4 separate regions of the Homo sapiens genome follow, and regions 2, 3 and 4 are each linked to region 1. Evidence: promoter capture Hi-C in 16 types of primary human blood cells and fetal thymus (Javierre and others, 2016). All regions are on one chromosome and are shown on one strand. The core of a region is centred on a gene start or on the middle of the fragment in contact, and the rest is flanking DNA. Distances in the headings are between cores, read along the strand shown. Region 1 holds the start of PGBD3 (piggyBac transposable element derived 3). Region 2 overlaps WDFY4 (WDFY family member 4). Region 3 holds the start of WDFY4 (WDFY family member 4). Region 4 overlaps WDFY4 (WDFY family member 4).

Region 1 (2,736 bases), core at 30-2,529:
CTGTAGTGTCTGGACGGGGGTTAATGAGCAGTTCTAAGTAACAAGAAAAAACACCAGGTCAACCTTCACTCACAAAGGCCAATAAATACAACAAACTAGGTCTCTTCACCTTGAGAAATAAGAAAAAACTGTTGAGGATTGGGAAAAAGCCATCCCACTATCAAGTATTTTAAAAGTAATAAGGTTCCTTTTTCCCTTTGACTTCCTTAGAGCTAAGTGAGCTCTAAGTCAAGGAGACTTGAAATGCGCGGCAGTAGCACAGTGTTCAGTGGGCCACCATGGGGAGGCCTGCAATACAGATTATTTTTCCTGGCTCTCAGAAAACGTGTGGCAATATGCAATTCAGACTTCATGTTTCACATGTTCACCTTCCCTTTTATGGTGCTTGCTTTATACAATGACAATGTCATGGAGCTAAAAGCCAAAGTCAGTCTCTAACATAAAAAACAACAGTGAAAAGAAAGGTATGCTGTGCATACAAAGTACACTTTTTGCATGATGGTGGCTTATAATTATGCAGATGACTATTTTCTCAAGACAAAGGAAGGATTTACAAAAGCAAGCTTATTCTTTCTATGCCAAAGCTTAAGTTTCAGCTCTTTTTTGAAGAAAAGTTCTCTAAAATTACTTTCCTGCTTCAAAAGGGAAAACAGAAACCCCTATCCAGTATGCATTAATTCACCCTTTTCTTTTTCCTGATACTCATTCTAGGGTGACTGTCGGTATAAAGGCGACACAGCTCACACTCAGCCCTCTGTATGCCTCTTGCCCCAGCCTTCCCTTAAGTTTTTCATCTTAGACTTGCCTCCAAATCCAACTAAAGACCTAGAAGTACATGCATTTGGGGCCAGCATCATTAAGGACTCAGGGGCCCCACTGCTTCTAGCAGGTTAAGGCTGCAGAAATCCAACCTCTGTATAATCGGGGGGGTCTAATATATTAAGCTGGATCTAGAATGCTTACATATTAATAAACCTGTCACCTAAGATAAAGCAAACAGTACAATGTATTTATAATCCCCACAGACCGACCTTAACCGCTGCTTATAATAATCTTCATCTCCATCATCTCGGTATCTTCCCACTTTCCGACCTCCTCCTCCTCCTTCTCCTACAGAAGCAGCTTCAGCTTCTTCCCCAGAACTTGGGAAAAAGTCATCATCAATCTCCTGCACTGGCACTTTCTTCTGCCGTTTCCCGCCCTTGGGCAGAGGCTTCAGCTCATAGTCAGTACCATCTCCAGACAGGTCCGCCTCTGCCCCCTCCACCTCGTCATCTTCCTCCTCTTCCTCCTCCTCTGTGGGGAAATACTCAGACTCTTCACCCTCAGAGTCTCCCTCTGCCTCTGGCCTCATGTCTGACTCCCAAGGTCTCCTTGCCTTTGGCAATCCCACTTTCCCCTGGAACTGCAAAGCCCTCTTCTGGAGTTTCTTGATGTGCTTTTTCAAACGCTCCTCTTTTTTGGACAGAACTCTGGCTTTCTTGTTTGGTTTGTTTTTATTTTGCACTGGGGCTGGAGGCGTGACTGGGGCTGGAGCTTTTCTAGCTGCTCTTTTATTACAACCTTGCTTCTTCCTTTCAAAAGACAGTTTTGCTTGATCTGCCAAATACTTTTCGAAGCCTGATGCTTCATTAAGCATGATTTTTCTGGGCTTTTTCTCCTGTTTCTGAGGGATCTGGGTACCAAAAGGTGTCATCTGGCCAGTGCGGATGAGCTCTTCCCAGGCAGTCTCCTGGACAGGCATGAGCATGCTGCCAAGACTGGATGGCCCCGGCTCTGAAAGAACAATAGCAATGCGTTTCGCACTAGCATGAAACTTTCCGAGGGTACAAAAGAAATGCTCACTCTTTCAAGAAATATTAGGCAGCTACAAATAACTCATATAAAAAAAGAATCATCCATGTACTAAAGCATGTTACATATGAAGGACAGAATAAAATTATAGCATCATGCTATATTTAATATATTCCTGTTCAAAAAGACAACTTCTCAGTAACTTTTCCCCAAAATATTTCACTATAAATATACTCTCTGCCATCCAAAGATAGGCTTATTACTGTATAAATACAGTTATAAATAGTCAAGTTTAGCTGTGTTTCCTTATCAGCTGAGTAGTCGTCCATGAGGAAGCAAGCTCCGAAGTTCTCACGTCATTGCTAAAACCAACATTCAGATGGACTTAAATTCAAGAGACAGTAAAACCAAAAACAGGGATCACCATGTACCTAAAAAGGAAAAACATAAATGTCAGCTCTATGCTGCCCAGCATGGCAGTTACCAGTCACCTGCAGCTATTTAAATTTAAATTACATTAAGTTAAAAACTCAGTTCCACAGTTGCATTTGCCCTTTTTCAAGTGCTCAAGAGCTACACGTGACTAATGGCTACTATAATGGGCAACACAGAGAACATTTTCATCACTGCAAAAAGGTCTATTGGACAGCAGCACTGTGTTAGATATGTGAAGTTAACTGACTTGAAGACATTACACCATAAGTGTAAAGTCACCAGAAAGTATCCCTCTTTCATTAGTTGAAATTCATCTCTGGCAAAATTACCACATAACCAAAATACCAAAAGACCTAAGGCTTAATAGGAAGGAATCCATATTCTAAAATCTACAATTCTTGCAGGCCAATGATACCCAGTTTTTCATTAAACTTGCACTGAAATAAAACATACATCTGAAAGTGCACAAATCATTAAGTGTAGAACTCAGTGAATATTCAGAAAAAA
Region 2 (2,700 bases), core at 199-2,698, 680 kb before region 1:
GTGTTATTTTTTAAACCTCAAAAGTTTCTGTTTTCACTTCAACTGAAAGTAAAGTCTATGTGGCCTGTATCATTGCCCTCAGTCTTGCAGGCAGCCGTGCTTCCTACGCCACACCCAGAATGACCTTCCCCAGAGGGACAGAGTCTGGTGATGGAGGTGGGGACACACTGCAGCATCAGGGAAATTCAACCAGCCTGGGGCGGTGGGGAGGGGCTCCATTATCCTTTTAGGTTTTCTGGACACTCAACCAGAGCCTTCTCTCTCATTTTTGCTCTTCCCTTGACACACACACACACATACACATACACACACACACACACACACACCTCTCTCACGCACACACACACACACCCCCACTCTCTTTCTCTCTCTCTCACACACACACACGTGTATATGCACACCCCCACCCACACACACATAGACACATCCCATTGTGCAAGCAATTGACATTAGAATTCACCTATCACACCAGTGAGAAGGAAGCGGGAAGGAGTCTGATCAATTGCACCAGAAACTCAGCAGCAGAACTGAACAAGGACGAGAGTTCCCTACAGCCCAGATTTTGAAAAAGTGGCAACATCACCAGTACAGCATTAGTATCCAGAATAAGGGGGAAGGATAAGAGCTGGATGAAGAAAGACAGTGGTTTTTCTTTTTCCATTTTAAGGAGTCTTAAGTGTCTCTGGTCTATCACAAGTGTCTGTTATAGGAGTCTGAAAAATACATGTAAATGAACAAAGCAAACACTGATACCTTTAATGATGTTTCTTTACTGAGTGCATCATTTGTGAGACATCTTTATCTTCATAATAGAAGGATAATTAACATCACTAATTATCTAATTAAGTTCATTAAGCATCCACCAACAGAGCACCGTGAAGTTGACATTATGTTCTACTGTCAACAAATGCTTTTGATTTCTTAGGAAGTAATTAAAATGTAAATTAGCATACAATTATATGCACAGGGGAAGTTTTGAATCAGATATTCATTTCAAAATTGCTTAGAGCAACACAGTTTTTGTTTGTTTCTTCTTCAATAAAAGCAGTTATTTTGCTGCTAGTGGTATATATTAAAGTTTCCATTGGGCTGTTCAGCTCTTGAGTGGTAGCAAGGTAATAAGTACTATAAGACACAGACTGTTCCATTGATATATTTGTTACTGCACTTTGTGCTTTTTTCTTATTTGATCATTTTGTGCTTTTTTCTTATTTGATCATTTTATTTAATGTTTGTTTGTATTTGTGTCCTTCATGTTTAAACATATCACAACTGATTTTTTTTTTTTCGGAAAAGTTTCTGTAATTCCTGCCTTAAATTCTCTAGCTGAGCTTTCCCTTTAAAGGTATTTTAGGGCAAATCTTCTAATGTATGTTTTCTGTCAGGTTAGGTTCAGGGAGTATCATCCATGACTTGCTGAAAATAGGTTACACACATTCCCTTACCCATGCAGGAAAGAGAAACTGCACATATCAAACTTGAAGTCCAGCCATCCTTAGTTGTAAGCTCACATTTTCCTGCTTTCTTAGGGCAGAGAGCAGACACGGAGCTTGTGCAAGCCCTGTGAATCAATGGAATATTCTCCATCTGAGATCATGATGGCTTCTGATAAAATATTATAACTGGAATGGGCACACTGTAGTGCTAAACGCAGTAACCTTCTTAGATTAGGGGTCTTCCTGAAACATCACAGAGTCACTGCACACCTGCTGGGAACAGGCTACCCAAGATAGAAGCCAGCATGTTCAAGTCTCCATAGCTTTCATTTTTAAAACAATTCTGATTGAATCCTGAATGCCTATCTTTTAATAAAGCAGCTAGTTCAGTGGATGTGATGTCCACTCTGTTATCTTTGTACATGAAGATGCCGGACCACTTGAGCATCAAGCTGATGTCACCTGATGCAGATGAGAAGAGAAAGTCTCTACTCATGACATCAAACTCCCTCAACTTCTTCTTGGATGATTTTTCCAGGAATAATTGGTACTGGATCCAGGCCCCTCAGTTTTGTGTGGAGAAGATTTGAGATAAATGCAAAGCAAATACAGAGGTTTAAGAGAGACTGTCCTTTGTCCCCTTAAAAGGATCAGTGTCAGGGCCTGACTCTGAATAGAACTGGCAGAACCACTAACAGCCCATCAATGTGGGTGCGGGAAGCTATCCTGAGGGCCCAAGCAGAGAAAGACAGGCATCATCATTGCACAGCAGCTGGTGGTAGATGTGAAACCAGCTGGTCTGCGACAAGCAGTGTCCTCACTGCAGGGAATGGTCGCCTGTGCCAGAGACAGCAGTCGCCAGGTGTGTCCTGACTTCTGAGCTCTGCAGCAGGACCTGAGCTGTGGTGCGGTCCGCGGCTGCCCAGAGGAGGACGCCTTGTTCTCATTTGACTGTCCAGAGGGGCTTTCTCCTGCAAGTTCACTCGAAGGACAATGGCTGGGCTAGCAGAGACCCCGAACTAACAAAGGGACCCTGATGCTTAAACCGGATGATGCTGATCTTCTCCTAATGTGCAGCAAGCTCCTACCTCAGCTAGTTGATAAAAATTTCCTGTACCAGAAATGTTGGTTCTTGTTCTTAAACCTTATCTTAAAATGTAGTCTGCCATGTTGTGACTTAAGTGCAAAGTCCACACACTTAATGAATTATCAGTAGCTACAGTGACTTGCTTTGTCCATGGCTTGCTTGCCTATCTCCTGCCAG
Region 3 (3,106 bases), core at 234-2,733, 840 kb before region 1:
TTCATTCTGCAAATAAGATGTCAATTATCTCAGTTAAGATAGTGAGAATTTCAACCTTGAGTTTCTAGCTCTGAATTTAGTGCTCTTTACCTGCCTGCTGCTGGCTACCCGGCAAGGTGCTGGGGTGGGTAGAAGGTAGGAGACCTGGGTGCAGGTGGGCCCTCCAGCAGACTTTGCGAGATCCCACTATGACAGACTCTCCGCGCTTCCTCTGGGCATTCACAGGCATGGGGTCCTGGCCTGTCCCATGCTGGCCACCCTTCCTGCCTCTGTGGAAGTTCCTCTGTCTAATCCGCTCTTACCATAGGCCTCTGATTTCAGGCAATATCTTCTTGTAGATTTTATTTATGATTTCATTGGTGACAATGACGAGGGGTTTTCATCATATACAACAAACACTTCACTGCAAATTCTCTAAGGTTTTCTCTTTCCCTTGGCTGGCACTGCATGTATCCTTTCAATTTCTCTTTTCTTTTCTTTTTTTTCTTTTTTTTTTTTTTGAGACGGAGCTTCGCTCTTGCTGTCCAGACTGGAGTGCAGCTGGATAGATCTCCTATTTTGGCTGCTGTCTACTGACAAGTTTGCACTGGTGGAGGTTGAGGTTTTGTGACAAATGTTATTTTCCTCTTTAAACCAATCTTGGAGCTTTACTCCATGTCATAACAAGTGATGTTGTTGCTGCCTCTCAGTCAGTCATGCATGGTCCACTGGTTTTGTGAGCTAGAGACAAGCGATGAGCTGCACTGAGGATCAAGGATCAGGCATTAGCGCTAACAAGTGCCCTTGCTCTTTGGCAAAATTCTCCTTTTACAGAGCACAAGCAGGATTGTGTGTGAATGGACATGCTTGTTTGTACTGTGGAGATGACGTTATGGATAGGTGACATGGATAATTCAGCCTAGTTTATATACTCAGAGGAATGAGAATTTGGAGTCTGAGTTTCAGAGACTTCCATTCTATGGTTTTAGATGTCCTCTCATCCTTGCCTCAGTGTTGGCCGCAGGAGGACTCCCCTCATTGGTGGTTCAAGTTCTATCTGAGGATGGGGGAGGAAGAAATCCAAGTGGGCAACTCTGAGCTTGGTGGGGTGAGGGCTGCCCAACCCATGCCATGTCCAGGGGTGCACTTAAACACACCTCTGATTAGATTCACCTAACACCATCATTGTTCTCATTTTGCCAGAGGCCCAGAGAGGAGAGGTGTGCACCAGTGGTCACACGGCTAGTGAAGAGGGGACACAGAATCCAGACCTACTCTTCTAGGGCTGGGCTGTACTTTCCATTTTGTCCTTGGCCCCAACCAGCACCGCTTGACCACGGAGGCTGCACAGCCAGCCCCAAGGGGCCTTGCTGCAGAACCCAAGTCACCCGCCAGAACTCCAGCAGCTCCGTGGTCGGCTGGAGAGTGGGCAGAGTCAGGCATCTGCCGGCTCTCCACTTCTGCTTTCTCCAGGAAATGAGCAGAGACCCAGCTCCAGTGATTCAGAGTGAAACGGCGCTGAGGACTGACGATGTGGGGCCGGGTCCTCTTCCCCCGAGCCTGAGGGGCTGCAGCTGGGGATAGGGGGCCCATGCCTTCTGATGTCTACAGGCGCTGACGGCCACCCCTCCAGGTAGGCCACCTTGCTCTTGGCCCAGCCAGGCCAGCCTAGAGGTGGGCATATGGGCGCCGCCTGTCAGCGTGGGGCCTACTGGCTGCCTCCTGGGAGGCTGACTATGGGGCACATGTGACCCAGTGCCTGGTTTGGGTTTGTGAATGTGGGAGAGGAGGTGAGCTGGGGAGCAGGAAGTGTGTGTGGCGTGGGGGGCCCATGTGGTCAGGGCCACTCCAGGGCCTGGGTCTGCCTGAGTGTGTGTCACTGCTGAAGTTTGGGAGTCAGGCTGGGCTCCAGCAGCACTCCTCGACCTCTGACGGTAGGTCAAGTCCTTTCTCGGGGTCCTGCTATGAAGGGAACCCTGGGAAGGGCTGACACGGGCTTTCCTGGTTGTCGAGGGGGCGGAGAGAGCAGGCCGACAGGACAGTGAGGCTCGCCCTCCAAGCTCCCTCATAGGCCTCTGAGGAGTGCAGAGTTGGAGGGCCATTTCCAACGGGCCTCAGAGGGAGCTGGTCTATCCCGGCCCTGTCATTACTCCACTGGGTTCTGGTAAGTAGGTGCCTCCCTGGGCTCACTTCCCTCATCTGAATTATTACAGCAAACCATTGAAACGCCTGCATTTTCTGCCTAAGCAGGGCCACCTGCTCAGTAAGGACTGATTCTTCTTTTCCCCTGAAATGAAACTTCTAGAACACTAAACCGATCCTTTGTCCCAACTCATCTAAAGTGTGGGGGGGCTGGTTTGATAACTAAGGGCTCTATGCATTACCCTTTCCATGGAGCACACTAATTTTAATATGAGTTTATGTATAGTCATTCATTTAGTTATTTAACAAATAGGTATTGAGAAACCACGCCCTGCCAGGCTCTGGTCAAAGCGGACAGGGGTCTACGGTGCTCAGCAGGTGGGAGAATAGCAGGTAGGGTGGGGGTCTTGGGAGGGTGGGGATGGCTCTAGTCTTCTGAGAGGGGACCTGTGAGGGAGGCCGAGTCCTGTGGGTTTCTGAGAAGTGTTCTTGATAAGGGTCTGGAGGAGGAGACCTCGTGGAGGTTGGTGTGGCAGAGCCGGGTAAGGGGCATGCCTGGGGTTCTGGCCAGAGAGGTAGGGAACAGGGTCAGGTCAGGGAGGCCCTTCCTGTCTGTCCATCCTGAGCACATGGGCTATTCTTTCATGAACTTGGAAAGATTTTCTGTGTTGAAAGAAAAGAAAATTTCGGCCAGGCGCAGTGGTTCACGCCTGTAATCTCAGCACTTTGGGAGGCTGAGAGGGGCAGATCACCTGAGGTCAGGAGTTCAAGACCAGTCTGGACAACACGATGAAACTCCATCTCCAAAAAAAAAAAAAAAAAAGAAGGAAAGAAAAGAAAATTTAGAAAGACCATAATAAGATAGAAGTAATAAAAACAGCATAAACCCTGTGTGCTGACACCTTAGATTTTTTTAAAGATCAGCATCATCTCTGAGGTCCTCTTCATGCCCATCTTTCACCTTCCCTCTTCAGAAGCAGCAACA
Region 4 (3,086 bases), core at 479-2,978, 740 kb before region 1:
GTGCCCACCACCATGCCTAGCTAATTTTTGTATTTTTAGTAGAGATGGGTTTTCACTATGTTGGCCAGGATGGTCTCAATCTCCTGACCTCGTGATCTGCCCACCTCAGCCTCCCAAAGTGCTGGGATTACAGGCATGAGCCACCACACCCAGTTGCATCGTTTACTTTTTTTTTTTTTTTTTTTTTGAGACGGAGTAGTCTCGCTCTGTCACCCCAGGCTGGAGTGCAGTGGTGCGATCTCGGCTCACTATAAGCTCCGCCTCCTGGGTTCGCGCCATTCTCCTGCCTCAGCCTCCCCAGTAGCTGGGACTACAGGCACCCACCACCATGCCTGGCTAATGTTTGTTGTGTTTTTTAGTAGAGACAGGGTTTCACCATGTTAGCCAGGATGGTCTCGATCTCCTGACCTCGTGATCCGCCTGCCTCGGCCTCCCAAAGTGCTGGGATTACAGACGTGAGCCATTGCGCCTGGCCTTAAACTGTTGAGTTTTAAGGGTTTTAGGGTTTTAAAATGTATACATATATGTGTATGTGTGTCTATATATATACATATATATTCTAGACACTAGTCCTTTGTTAGATATGTGATTTGCGATAATTCCTCCTAGTCTGTAGCATGTCTTTTAATCCTCTTTCACATGGGTAAAATTTCTGGTTTTGCTGAAATATAATTCATTAGTTTTTCCTTATATGACTCATGCTTTTGGTGTCGTTTGAGAATATTTTGCCTAGTCCTAGATCCTGAAGATATTCTCCTATTTTTTTCCCTAAAAATTTTCTAGTTTTACGTTTTACACTAGAGTTTGCAATCAATTATGAATTAATTTTTGTATAAGGTGTAAGGTTTAAGTTCATTTCTTTGCCTGTGGATGTTCAATTGCTCCAGCACCATTTGTTGAAGAGTCTATCATTTCTCAATTGAATTGCTTTTGCATCTTTGTCAAAAATCAGGTGAGCATTCTTATATAAGCTTATTTCTGGGTTCTCTATTCTGTTCCATCGATCTATGTGGTTATCTTTATACCAATGTCACACTATATTGATTTTATAGCTATATAATAAGTCATTATTAGAGTAGTTCCTCCCCCAAATTAATTCTTCTTTTTCAGAGTTGTTTAAACTATTCTAGGACCTGTGCCTTCCCATATACATTTTAGAATTAGCTTGTTTGTGTCTACAAAAGACCTTGCTGGAATTCTGATAGTCTACAAAAAACCTTTCTGGAATTGCATTATACTTACTGATCAACTCGAGGGGAAATAATATCTTTACTATAGTGAACCTTTCTATCCATGAACCTGGTATGTCTCTCCATTTATATAGGTCGTCTTGGACTTTTTCCATCATCACTTAGGAATTTTCAGTATACAGATCCTCTACTTGTCTTACTAAGTATTTCATTTTCTTGTGCATAATTGTAAGTGGTATTGTGTTTAATTTTAGTTTCTGTTTGTTTATTGTTAGCCTACACAAATAAAATTGATTTTTGTGTATTGATCATGTATCCTGTGACCTTGCTGAATTCACTTATTCTAGGATATTAAAAAAAATTCCTTGGAACTTTCTACATGGACATGATAGAAACAGTTTTATTTCTTCCTTTCCACTCTGTATGTATGTAATTATTGTTCATACATAAAACTATTAATTTGCCAATACTAGACATTCAGGTTCTTAGTAGAATGACTGAGATAAGAAAGGTGTACACTTTTTTGTTTCTTAATATTTTTTATCAAATTTATTTTCAAAAGGACAGTATCAGTTTTTTACTCCACATTTAATAACTTGTTTTGCGCATACTTCTGAGATTTGAGAATTATATTTTAGTTTTTTAGATAAAATACATTTTTACTATGAGATGAGAATAAGATGCATCATGTTATATCACTTTGTATTTACTTGATTAACTCTGAGATCAAACACTACTCACTCTTGTCCTTTTTATTTTAACAGATGTTATACATCCAGGCTCTACCAGGGCCTTTCCTTTCTATGGATCCATCCGCATTTGTGGATGTTTATGGATATATTGCTACTCCTCGAGTCTGGAAACAAAAGTCTTCATTAATCTGGCGTCTTGGCCCCACATACCTCTTTGAAGAAGCCATTTCAATGGAAACTCTGGAAGTTATTAACAAACTTGGCCCAAGATATTGTGGTAACTTCCAAGCTGTGCATGTCCAAGGTATGGAGTGTTTTGATTTACAATGTTCTTGCTGATATTAGTTTTTAAATGGACATCCAGTTATTTGTAGCAGATTTGCAGAGAATAAGCTCAGCGTTAAAGTCAGTCATTAGGGAAGACCTCTGTAATTGTATCATTATATATTTACAACCCAAGAGAAAATGTCACAGAAAAGGAAATGACAATATCTTTAGATTTCAACTCCAAAGCCCTAATGGGGAAGAGGTGGGTTGGGCAATACCATCAGCAAAGAAAGAGAGAAGAGAATGAGATAAATAAGTTACATTGCTTTTAATGAAGAAGCTTTTTAACTAAAGTATACTGTTGACTTCAATTATTAAACAGGCAGACAAAACATCCACATTTTCATTATTGATTGTTGTTATTCAAGCAGGGAGCATTGTTCTCTGTGCTCTGTCAAGTCAAAGGGGTCAGCTCCCATCTGGAAAGAATGATAAATGAATCTATGTCAGCAGCCTGTATGTGCTGAAGGGCGATTGAGTGCTCTTGAGCATTTCTGTCTCCAGGCCCATGATGTCTTTGAATTTCATTTCCTGTGGCAAATGGCACTGGCCAGAGCAATGGGACGAGGTCAGGTCTAGAGCCAAAGTCTTACCAATTCTATATTCATGGCACCTTTCTCTACTAGCACATTGGGTATCATTGACTTAGAGACCAGTATGTTAATTCAAACTGGGGTGTTTGCCGTGGCTGTGCAGCTCATTGAAAATTAGACATTTCAGATCAGCCTATTTCAAGTCAGGTTTCTTGTCACTTAAGAGTTTGGTTTTAGGGAATGAGGTTATATACTTTACAGATGTTTTAAGCTCTGGTAGTTTCGCACCTGGAGTGCATCTATTTCATGGTAAGACAAATCTTGGGAGAGTTCGCCACAGTTTT

Evidence for each region. The method cuts DNA at HindIII sites, captures the fragments that hold promoters and counts their contacts. A CHiCAGO score of 5 or more calls a contact.
Region 2: a fragment that was not itself captured here is called in contact with the fragment with the promoter of PGBD3 in region 1 in 1 of 17 cell types (M2 macrophages); the score reaches 5.2 in M2 macrophages.
Region 3: the fragment with the promoter of WDFY4 here is called in contact with the fragment with the promoter of PGBD3 in region 1 in 3 of 17 cell types (monocytes, megakaryocytes and neutrophils); the score reaches 11.2 in monocytes.
Region 4: a contact is called between a fragment that was not itself captured here and the fragment with the promoter of PGBD3 in region 1, in 1 of 17 cell types (monocytes). The highest score is 5.6, in monocytes.

What each region holds. Positions count from the first base shown.
Region 1 is chr10:49,523,002-49,525,737 of GRCh38, forward strand. It overlaps PGBD3 (piggyBac transposable element derived 3), which reads right to left and starts at 1,280. Exons shown (of 2, transcript NM_170753.3): 1 at 1,032-1,280. It overlaps ERCC6 (ERCC excision repair 6, chromatin remodeling factor), which reads right to left. Exons shown (of 21, transcript NM_000124.4): 5 at 1,032-1,776. The HindIII fragment of the contact is 2,591 bases long and covers 583-2,736 here.
Region 2 is chr10:48,840,122-48,842,821 of GRCh38, forward strand. The region is part of intron 39 of WDFY4 (WDFY family member 4); the gene reads left to right. Among named protein-coding and RNA genes, the nearest start is that of LRRC18, 98 kb to the right of the region's middle. The HindIII fragment of the contact is 6,798 bases long and covers 1-2,700 here.
Region 3 is chr10:48,683,390-48,686,495 of GRCh38, forward strand. It overlaps WDFY4 (WDFY family member 4), which reads left to right and starts at 1,484. Exons shown (of 62, transcript NM_001394531.1): 1 at 1,484-1,612. RefSeq lists enhancers at 406-485, 1,416-1,715, 1,734-2,274 and a silencer at 706-755. The HindIII fragment of the contact is 16,271 bases long and covers 1-3,106 here.
Region 4 is chr10:48,784,685-48,787,770 of GRCh38, forward strand. WDFY4 (WDFY family member 4) reads left to right here. Exons shown (of 62, transcript NM_001394531.1): 20 at 1,955-2,186. Among named protein-coding and RNA genes, the nearest start is that of WDFY4, 100 kb to the left of the region's middle. The HindIII fragment of the contact is 1,518 bases long and covers 970-2,487 here.